3 separate regions of the Homo sapiens genome follow, and regions 1 and 3 are each linked to region 2. Evidence: promoter capture Hi-C in 16 types of primary human blood cells and fetal thymus (Javierre and others, 2016). All regions are on one chromosome and are shown on one strand. The core of a region is centred on a gene start or on the middle of the fragment in contact, and the rest is flanking DNA. Distances in the headings are between cores, read along the strand shown. Region 1 holds the start of REG4 (regenerating family member 4). Region 2 has its middle 41 kb from the start of HSD3B1. Region 3 holds the start of ADAM30 (ADAM metallopeptidase domain 30).

What was found. The method cuts DNA at HindIII sites, captures the fragments that hold promoters and counts their contacts. A CHiCAGO score of 5 or more calls a contact.
Region 1: the fragment with the promoter of REG4 here is called in contact with a fragment that was not itself captured in region 2 in 1 of 17 cell types (M0 macrophages); the score reaches 5.7 in M0 macrophages.
Region 3: a contact is called between the fragment with the promoter of ADAM30 here and a fragment that was not itself captured in region 2, in 1 of 17 cell types (M2 macrophages). The highest score is 5.7, in M2 macrophages.

The regions. Positions count from the first base shown.
Region 1 is chr1:119,809,885-119,813,531 of GRCh38, reverse strand. It overlaps REG4 (regenerating family member 4), which reads left to right and starts at 2,072. Exons shown (of 6, transcript NM_032044.4): 1 at 2,072-2,123. The HindIII fragment of the contact is 5,277 bases long and covers 1-3,032 here.
Region 2 is chr1:119,547,027-119,550,226 of GRCh38, reverse strand. No RefSeq gene overlaps it. Among named protein-coding and RNA genes, the nearest start is that of HSD3B1, 41 kb to the right of the region's middle. RefSeq lists an enhancer at 247-541. The HindIII fragment of the contact is 5,511 bases long and covers 1-3,200 here.
Region 3 is chr1:119,894,385-119,898,006 of GRCh38, reverse strand. ADAM30 (ADAM metallopeptidase domain 30) reads left to right here and starts at 1,492. Exons shown (of 1, transcript NM_021794.4): 1 at 1,492-3,622. The coding sequence starts at 1,671. The HindIII fragment of the contact is 9,342 bases long and covers 1-3,622 here.

The sequences.
Region 1 (3,647 bases), core at 823-3,322, 260 kb before region 2:
AAAACCAAACACTGATGTTTTCAGTCATATGTGGGAGTTATGAGGATGCAAAGGCACAAGAACGATCCACTGGACTTTGGGGACTCGGGCGAAAGGGTGGGGGGTGGCAGGAGATAAAAGGCTACACGTTGGGTATAGTATACACCGCTTGGATGATGGGTGCCCCAAAATCTCAGAAATCACCGCTAAAGAACTTATCATGTAACCAAACACCACCTGTTCCCCAAAAACCTATTGAAATTAAAAATAATAAATAAATAAATAAAGCTACTATTCGAAAGCTGCCTGGCTTCCACTTTATCTCTCCATTATGGTGCCATCCCCATCCTTGTCACTTTGAAGGTGATCATTGCTGATTTGGGGCTTTTAGGATTCTCACTTTGACCATTTCATGTATGAGGTGTTTATATGTAGACTTTTTTTTTTTAAATAAACTTACTATTCAGTGGACCTTTTTGATTCAGACAATTTTCTGGTCCTTTACATTCTTACATCTCAAAGGTTTATGTGAGTCCTATCAATGCCTTAATTTGGAGCTAGTCAATGTGAGGGTTCAGTAAGAGACCTCTTAAAAGTCCTATGAACATCTTGTTTTCTAATCTGTTCTACTCTCTTCTCTCTCATCTCAAGTCTTTAAATCTGGATAATGGCATGGGGATAGCAGACTAAGGGTTGGGATGGCTGCTGGAAACACAGGAGATCTATCTAATCACCCATTTTGTTAAAACTTTTCTGTCTTACATCTGGACCAGGACTTCTGAAATTGAAAGGCTTGGAGTTAACATCTTTGTACGCCATTGTGCCATGAAGCAATGATGATTCCCATCCAGCTGCCTAAAGAGAAAGAGGTTTGTGTCAAACATTCTGATGGGAGAGATTCTTTAAAATGTTCTTTGTGAACCATGAAAGCATTACTTTCTCATGTCCTACCATGAATTTACACAACTGATGCAAAAATCTAATAACAAAGGTTGAGTAGCATTTTCCAAACAACAGTGAGCTGGGAGCAAGGAAGCTGGCTTCTGATATCAGCTTCACCCACAACTGTCTGTGCATTAAACTAGTCACAATGTTTCTCTAGGCCTCAATTTCCTCACCAGTAGAACAAAAGAGTAAGATTTGATAACTACTATGGTCCCTTCCAGACTTAAAGTTTCCAGACATAAAGGTCCTTTACAGACTTAAATCTGTAGTTTAAAGTTGAGTCATCTCTGGCACCTACAACCTAACCCTTTGCCATCTATACTGGAAAAGAAAATCTTGTTACTCTTTTCAAATAGCCTATTTTTCAGTAGAACTGTATTTTGGCAAACACCTATATTTGGAGTCAGAAGGACAAGGTTCAGTGTCCAGGTCCACTGCTGACCAGTGTTGTGAACCTCGGAAGGTTTCTAATCTCTCTTAAGGTTGGGTTTCTTGAGTGTGTAATGGGGATATGTGTCCTATGCTGCTCACAAGGATTTTGTTGGCATCTTATTTGATGACTTCACTGAAAACCCGTTATTGTAACACACTCTGTTGATGTAAGCTATTTTGACATGATCATCCATGTTCTGCGGGAGAAGCTCAAATAGTAGATCTCTGAGGAAACTCACGCATGTTGAAGGAGTGGAGTCGGTGCTTTAGGAAGGAAAATCTGTGTGTGGGTCTCAAGTCTCACCGCATGGGTCATAACCTATTCCTGACCCTGACAGAAAATCCTTCTAGAAATAAAAGAGAAATAAAGGAAATCCACCATACCAAGGCATAAAAAGACAGCCATGAAAAAGTAACATAAGGGGAGAGGAAGATGGGCTTATAACAGATTACAGGATGTTGTCAGTTTTAATAACGTGATGTGAAGAAAAGATTCTGTTTGCACACAGGGAGAGGTTCTTTTCCTGGCTAGTCAAAGCACACCTTACGTACATTCTGAAGCCGTCTCTTATATGATTCATTTTTTTCACTGTAGATAAGACTTTTATGGATGGATTGTTTTTCTCAAATAATATTATCGCTTTGTGACTAAAGTAAAGATTATTAATTCCTGAGGCAAGAAGATATAAAAGCTCCAGAAACGTTGACTGGGACCACTGGAGACACTGAAGAAGGCAGGGGCCCTTAGAGTCTTGGTTGCCAAACAGGTAATCCTCCTCGCGGTTGATGATGGGGGACTTTCTTTAAACATCTGTTTTCCTCTGTCAGCTATTAGCCAGGCCAGAAATGACAAATTGTATTTCTAGTGAGGCTTGTCAGGCTTTCTGTTGCTGTGTTGTTTGATTTAAATTATTTACCTTCTTTTCTTCCTTCACTGCAAAGAGCATTGGCTTTGGTGTCAAGCTGTTGGGTTAAATCTTGGCTCTGCAGTCTGGTAGCTGGGAAACTTTAGAAAAGTTACTCAATCATAAGTGTCAGTGTCTTCATTTGTAACATGCATTCATGAGATCTACAGTGCAGGTTTTTTGTTTTTGTTTCTGTTTTTGTTTTTGTTTTTGTTTTTTTATGGAGTCTTGCTCTGTCTCCCAGGCTGGAGAGCAATGGTGCAATCTTGGCTCACTGCAACTTCTGCCTCCCAGGTTCAAGTGATTCTCCTGCCTCAGCCTCCTGAGTAGCTGTGATTACAGGCACTTGCCACCACGCCCAGCTAATTTTTGTATTTTTTAATAGAGACAGGGTTGTGCCATGTTGGCCAGGCTGGTCTTGAACTCCTGACCTCAGGTGATCCACCTGCCTCAGCCTCTCAAAGTGCTGGGATTTCAGCCATGAGCCACCACACCCGGCCCAGTGCAGCTTACTTATGAACATGACATGCAGACATTCAATGAATATCAGTTCACTAAAAATTATTCACAGATTAGTAAAAAAGATGCTGCCTCTCCCTTCCCCCAGATGGTCACCTTGACAGAGAAATTCTGTTTGCGTTTTAAAGGGGTTTGAGGACATTGAAAATACACTATTACTTTTGGAAGGAAAGTTTAGCAAAGTGCAAGGTTCACGCAATGATTTAAAAAGAAGTAAGGGGTGGGGAAGGTCACATCCACACTCTCCAAGCTTTGTCTCATTCTCAGTTAATGTTGCCTTAAAGTGTTCAGATGGACCCCAGAATTGATTTTCCAGAAAAGTCATCATTTACATTATTCTCTTTAAGCAATCCATTATTTGAGAGTTAGATTGTATATTCAGATTTTTTAATCATAAAGTATGATTAAATGTGAATTCAATGAATTAACTCATTTTAAGAATTATTTGGGAGGGAAATCCAGAACTCAGTTTCATACTTATGTTAAAACAAAGCCCAGACAGATGAAAATAGAACAGTGATAAATATTTTAACCTTATGTGACAGTAATGGCCAGTCTTTTGATATAAATTTAAAAATTATTTTTAAAAACATAAAAAATAACAATATTTTTGAAAATTTCAGAATGGCAAAAATTATAATAAGTAAGAGAAAAATACAAACTGAGAAATACTATTAGTAACACGTGAAAGGCAATAAACATACAAAAAAGATCTCACAAATAAACATACAAAAAAGATCTCACAAACAATGAAATAGAAAAATGTGCAAAACTGTAAAATGAAAATTCACCAAATACTAAAAGCAAATCATTATATAAAAAGATGTTCAACTTCATTAGTAATTATAAAATATTTTAAAACACTAA
Region 2 (3,200 bases), core at 204-2,703:
TGACATGGTGAGTTACTGTCCTCAAGACACGGCAGTGTAGGGGTGCGGAACAGGATATATAAATGAAAAATCAGTGAGAGTGCAACTCGATATGCACAAGACACAGAGGCTGTAAAATGAGACATATTGGATAGTAAATAAGGAGCTGGGAAGGATGTGCTGGCAGGAGAGCTGGGCACCCTTTAAGCGGAAGGAACACCATGCACCGGCCTGGGTGGATATAAAAGCATGCTGCATGCAGGAAGCGCTGAGTTTGGAAAATTGTTGAGGCACAAAGTAGGAGAATCTGGGGACAGGGCAGGGATTGGTGAGAATTAGTCTGGAGTGTCAGGCAGGGCCCAGGGCTTCAGAGGCCCTCTATGTTCTGCTAAGGCTCTCAGGCTCGTCCTGACAGTCCTGGGGCTCCCCCTATTGGTTGGTTTTAAGGAAGGGAGTGACATGGTGAGACTAGTTTGGAGAGAACTCTGGCAACACTGCTGAGGATAGGTTTCATGGGTGATTCTCCAAGACAAGGAGGCCTGTTGGGGGTACGAGTAGGAATGATGTTACCAGGGAGGAAGACGACATATTCAAGAGGTGTTGTGGAGGTAAAGTTCGTAGCACTGAATGATAGGTGGGCGGAGTGGGGGGCTGCCATCCAGGTTTCTGGCTTGAGAAAGTGTGTGCTTGGGAATTCTGTGCCCACACCCAGTCCTGTCTAAACTAGCGGCCATTCTGTCTCAGGCCTGCCGCAGTTGCCCCTGTAGTCTGTTTTGTTACCAACACATAAATCAGGCCTTCATTTCTTACCTAAATTCTTCAAGTATCCTCTTCATCTCTTTCAGTCCATCCTACAACATGCTGCCAAGGTAATCTTCCAGGGACAGCTGAACAATGCCCATTGCAGAGTGAATGATGTCCCAGCTTTTAGCATCACCATCAATATTCATTGCTAAAGGAGACATTCGTTTCCTGTAGAGTCCAATTTTTGAGAGAAGATGAGCCATGTTATATGTGAAGTAATTGAATGTCAAGTCTTCTTTAAGGGGGTGTGGGGCACAGAATTCCTACTCTGAGGGCAATGAAGGAAGCAGGCACGGTGTCTCCAGGGATGACCCCAGGTGATCCTGCCTGTGCCCATCATTTTTTTCAGGTGTATCTTCCATGTCTCCCCTGGCCTTGGGCTTTCTGGTCTGGTCTCATTGCTGCTTAAAATGGACCCCTTTCTCACCTGGGTCTTTGCAGACTGCATTGCCTCTGCCTGGAATAATTTCACTCACATTCCTGTCTGTTGAAATCCTACCCATCTTTTGATATCCAGCCAAAATGCAAGGACCCCATGAGTCCCCTGTGGGAATGGATCCTTCAGAAGCATTTTCCTTTCTATGGCACTCTGCATATTTACTATGCACAGCACCTAACATGTCTTGTATTTTATCTCCCCCACTGGACCACTAGATTGGGAGCAGAAATGGAAAATCAGAGCTCTTAATCCTGGGTCCAGCCTGTGAATGTGTTTTGTTAGTTTGCATGTTTTTTCCCCACCAAATTTAATTTATTAAAAAATTATAACCTATGTTAAATATACAGAAAAGGTGACAATACGATATAATAATGTATATTTGGGACTTTTCACCAAGAATGAACAGATTTGCTGCTGACATCTCACCACCTACTTTTTAAGAAATAAAATATTACACATACATTTTGAATACTAGCCCACGCATTCCTCTCTTGGAGCAGGTCTTTGAGCTGTTTTTTAAAATTTAGAGTTAGTTGCTAATATTTAGAAATCAAGAGATTTCACATAAAAGTTGGCCTCTGGCTACTTTCCTGCCAGTTCTCAGCAGGCCATCACGGGTTCCCAGCCCCATCCTGGCCCTCAGAGCCTGGCTCTCAGGTGGTGGAAACTTTTGTCAAGTACCTGAGCTCCTCATCTGCCCTCCATACATGCTTCCCAGCAGACGGGAGGCCTCCTTATGCCCCTCGTCTTCCTCTGCACCACTGCCCATGCTGTGCCCCCTGTCTGGACCCAGGAATTCAAGGCCTCATTTAAGTCCCGCTGGTTCCTGTGGCTTTTCCCAGTGACCAGCTCAGCTCCATTGTCTGTATTCATATACACCTAGCCCTTAAGCCGGTGGCTGAGAACTTACCTGTGTTTTCATTCATTCCCTTGCCAGGTACCCTGCAGAGCCACCTAGATGGAGGAAAGGGACCCAAAAATCCCCACTGGGTCAGGCTTCCTTGCTCTTCCCTCCGAGACTTGCTGCCTCCGTGTGGTGCATGGCGTGAGGTTCAGCGAGGCTTGCTTGGTGCAGGAGCTCTGCCTGCCTGGCACCCACAGTTGTAAGAAGGGATGGCACATTTTGTTGGCCACAACACTCCGAGGCCTTTGTGCTTGTCCAGTTGAGACTGCTGGCCCATCCAATTTCTTCCTCTCTTTCTGTGATCACCCCTCACTGCCCATTGGAGGTATAATCTTTCCCATCACTTCTCTGTGAACATTGCCCTCATTGGTCAATAGGAGTGGGGTTTCACTAGGCTGAAAAACCAGGGGGAAAGGCTCTTGTCCCAGATTCCACCACCCTCCTATCCTTCCCATGCTATTTGTCATAAACATATGGATGGTGGGCATGCCTTACAAGAGCTGGAGAGGTGCTGGCTCTTGCATTTTGTTCAGTGGATGGGGCAAGAGGGGTGTTCCATTTTTCACTTTACCCCACTGCCTAGGGCCATTCCACCCTGATGCTGGTGCTGATCACCTGTCCCTTGGTGCTTTGAGGTTAATCATCTGTAAATTTTCTGTGTAAGAAAGAAGCCATCTTGATGTTGAGTGTGACCCTCATCATGGCTGTGATATACCCAGGTCCAGAGGGAGACAGCTTCCCTTCCCACACTCTGGACCCACAGCAACCTCCTCACCCGCTTCAGTTCAACTCTGTCCCTAATGCCCCTGAAAGTGTTTCTTTTGACCGTTGCTTCTTTGGTTGATTAATGACTATGTCATCACTGAAGTCCCCAAACTTGTCTTTATTGGCCTCCTCTCCTCAGGGAAATTGAGAAGAATGCGAGGGCCAGTGATAAAAGGGGAGATGTAGGGAAGGAGAAGCTAAGGAGTTGGAAGAATAAAGGAAGAAAGGATATGATTTAATGGAAAGATGGATAAAAAAGGAGGGAGAGGCAGTTATATCTGGGGATGTGGGATAGTAGACTTCTACTTT
Region 3 (3,622 bases), core at 243-2,742, 350 kb before region 2:
ACTCGTCTGCAGTTGAGAAATCCCTTCTTCAATGCTCCTTTACTGGCACCTGGAAATCTACATTTTGCAAGCAGAGCTTTTCATATTTATTTCCTTTATCTAAATCTATTTGTTCTGATGTTTTTCTTCTTTGAGTGGTTAGAACCATGACACACACATACACCTAAGCCAGAAACATCAACATTCTTTTTCATTTTTGCCTCTTTCATTCTGGGAGAATCCATGCAAGCATTAAGTCCAGCAGAGTCTAAGTGGTTTTAAATCTCTTGGAGCTGTCAACTTTTGTCCTTCCCTAAAGAGACAACAGAGTTGACTAGTAAAGAACACAGGCTCCGGGTAGAGTTGCCTAAATGTTCACAGGGATTGCTTCAGCTGACGCCACCTTCTGAACCATGGTACGGTTTTCATGTCCTCATGTGCAAAGTATGGGTGATAATAGTAGTACCTATAACCTAGGGTCATGGTGAAGATTTAATGGGCTGATTTATGCAGAGCATAGCGGGGTGTGTAGCATGAAACGAGCCAGTCTTCCATAAGTACTGCTTATTATCAGCCCTAAGGCCATGCTTTCTGCCAACAGACAACATTGCTTGGTACAAGAGCTTTTAACTAGTCTCCCTGACTCAAGCCTGTTCCTTTTTAACCTTTCCTTGTAATTCAGCCAGATGGAATCTCCCAGGAACAAAACTGAAAATATTCCTCTCTTATCAGAATCCCTCAGAATCACCTCATGACCTTCCGATTTGCCCTTTTACGGACGATAAACCCTTCCATTTTCTGAGCCAGAGGCTTCTTCCTTTGTGGAGTCAGCCTCATCGCTCGACTAGGAACATAACCAGCTATCTACCTTTCTCAGAAAGCACTTGGGTTTGCTCTTATAACAGGCACTTTTTCTAGGTTCTTCCCACCATTGCACATGGACACACAAAAATTACACTGACCCCTGGCACCCCAAAGACAAACAGCAGAAAGCACTCCCAGGCAAAATGAGCTCAGGACCTTTCTGTTGCCTGGGCCCACAACTAAGGTTCAGGGCCTTCTCTAAAAAGAAGCCGCAGCCGAAGACAGAGGAACTGCCCAGAGTGGGGCTGGGGGTGTGGAGTCTACGCTGATACTTTCAGGCTGTTTCCACTCTTGCTGGTTCTGATGCTCCTTTCTTTTGCCACAAGCAACCCTAGTGGAAAACTGGGAAATGTCCAACAATGAAGTTAGGACAGTGGCCCATAAAACATCGGATTCCAACCTGTGTCCTAAGGTGTAAAGACACAGAGTAAAGGCAAAGATACAGTGAGCCTTTAACACGTTCTCCTTTGTTCTTCCTATTTCTCTATTCCTTCTCCATTTCCGATGGTGTTCTCTACCCTCTCTCCAACCCACGTGCCAACAGCCCCTCTTTTCTCTTTTATTCTCGCCCACGTTTCCCTCCTTTCTTCCACCTGCGCCCAACGGTACGGCCCGGAAAACGAACTGGATGCGTTGGACAGGTCACGCGCGCATTGCGGACGCCAGCTAGACCGAGCCCTGGGAGGCTACGGGCTCCCCCGGAAACCCTGCCAGGGGAGCCGGGTTTTGAGCTCAGGCGCCTCTAGCGGCGGCCCCCAGAAATCTGACTCGCGAGGCCAGAGTTGCAGGGACTGAATAGCAAACTGAGGCTGAGTAGGGAACAGACCATGAGGTCAGTGCAGATCTTCCTCTCCCAATGCCGTTTGCTCCTTCTACTAGTTCCGACAATGCTCCTTAAGTCTCTTGGCGAAGATGTAATTTTTCACCCTGAAGGGGAGTTTGACTCGTATGAAGTCACCATTCCTGAGAAGCTGAGCTTCCGGGGAGAGGTGCAGGGTGTGGTCAGTCCCGTGTCCTACCTACTGCAGTTAAAAGGCAAGAAGCACGTCCTCCATTTGTGGCCCAAGAGACTTCTGTTGCCCCGACATCTGCGCGTTTTCTCCTTCACAGAACATGGGGAACTGCTGGAGGATCATCCTTACATACCAAAGGACTGCAACTACATGGGCTCCGTGAAAGAGTCTCTGGACTCTAAAGCTACTATAAGCACATGCATGGGGGGTCTCCGAGGTGTATTTAACATTGATGCCAAACATTACCAAATTGAGCCCCTCAAGGCCTCTCCCAGTTTTGAACATGTCGTCTATCTCCTGAAGAAAGAGCAGTTTGGGAATCAGGTTTGTGGCTTAAGTGATGATGAAATAGAATGGCAGATGGCCCCTTATGAGAATAAGGCGAGGCTAAGGGACTTTCCTGGATCCTATAAACACCCAAAGTACTTGGAATTGATCCTACTCTTTGATCAAAGTAGGTATAGGTTTGTGAACAACAATCTTTCTCAAGTCATACATGATGCCATTCTTTTGACTGGGATTATGGACACCTACTTTCAAGATGTTCGTATGAGGATACACTTAAAGGCTCTTGAAGTATGGACAGATTTTAACAAAATACGCGTTGGATATCCAGAGTTAGCTGAAGTTTTAGGCAGATTTGTAATATATAAAAAAAGTGTATTAAATGCTCGCCTGTCATCAGATTGGGCACATTTATATCTTCAAAGAAAATATAATGATGCTCTTGCATGGTCGTTTGGAAAAGTGTGTTCTCTAGAATATGCTGGATCAGTGAGTACTTTACTAGATACAAATATCCTTGCCCCTGCTACCTGGTCTGCTCATGAGCTGGGTCATGCTGTAGGAATGTCACATGATGAACAATACTGCCAATGTAGGGGTAGGCTTAATTGCATCATGGGCTCAGGACGCACTGGGTTTAGCAATTGCAGTTATATCTCTTTTTTTAAACATATCTCTTCGGGAGCAACATGTCTAAATAATATCCCAGGACTAGGTTATGTGCTTAAGAGATGTGGAAACAAAATTGTGGAGGACAATGAGGAATGTGACTGTGGTTCCACAGAGGAGTGTCAGAAAGATCGGTGTTGCCAATCAAATTGTAAGTTGCAACCAGGTGCCAACTGTAGCATTGGACTTTGCTGTCATGATTGTCGGTTTCGTCCATCTGGATACGTGTGTAGGCAGGAAGGAAATGAATGTGACCTTGCAGAGTACTGCGACGGGAATTCAAGTTCCTGCCCAAATGACGTTTATAAGCAGGATGGAACCCCTTGCAAGTATGAAGGCCGTTGTTTCAGGAAGGGGTGCAGATCCAGATATATGCAGTGCCAAAGCATTTTTGGACCTGATGCCATGGAGGCTCCTAGTGAGTGCTATGATGCAGTTAACTTAATAGGTGATCAATTTGGTAACTGTGAGATTACAGGAATTCGAAATTTTAAAAAGTGTGAAAGTGCAAATTCAATATGTGGCAGGCTACAGTGTATAAATGTTGAAACCATCCCTGATTTGCCAGAGCATACGACTATAATTTCTACTCATTTACAGGCAGAAAATCTCATGTGCTGGGGCACAGGCTATCATCTATCCATGAAACCCATGGGAATACCTGACCTAGGTATGATAAATGATGGCACCTCCTGTGGAGAAGGCCGGGTATGTTTTAAAAAAAATTGCGTCAATAGCTCAGTCCTGCAGTTTGACTGTTTGCCTGAGAAATGCAATACCCGGGGTGTTTGCAACAACAGAAAAAACTGCCA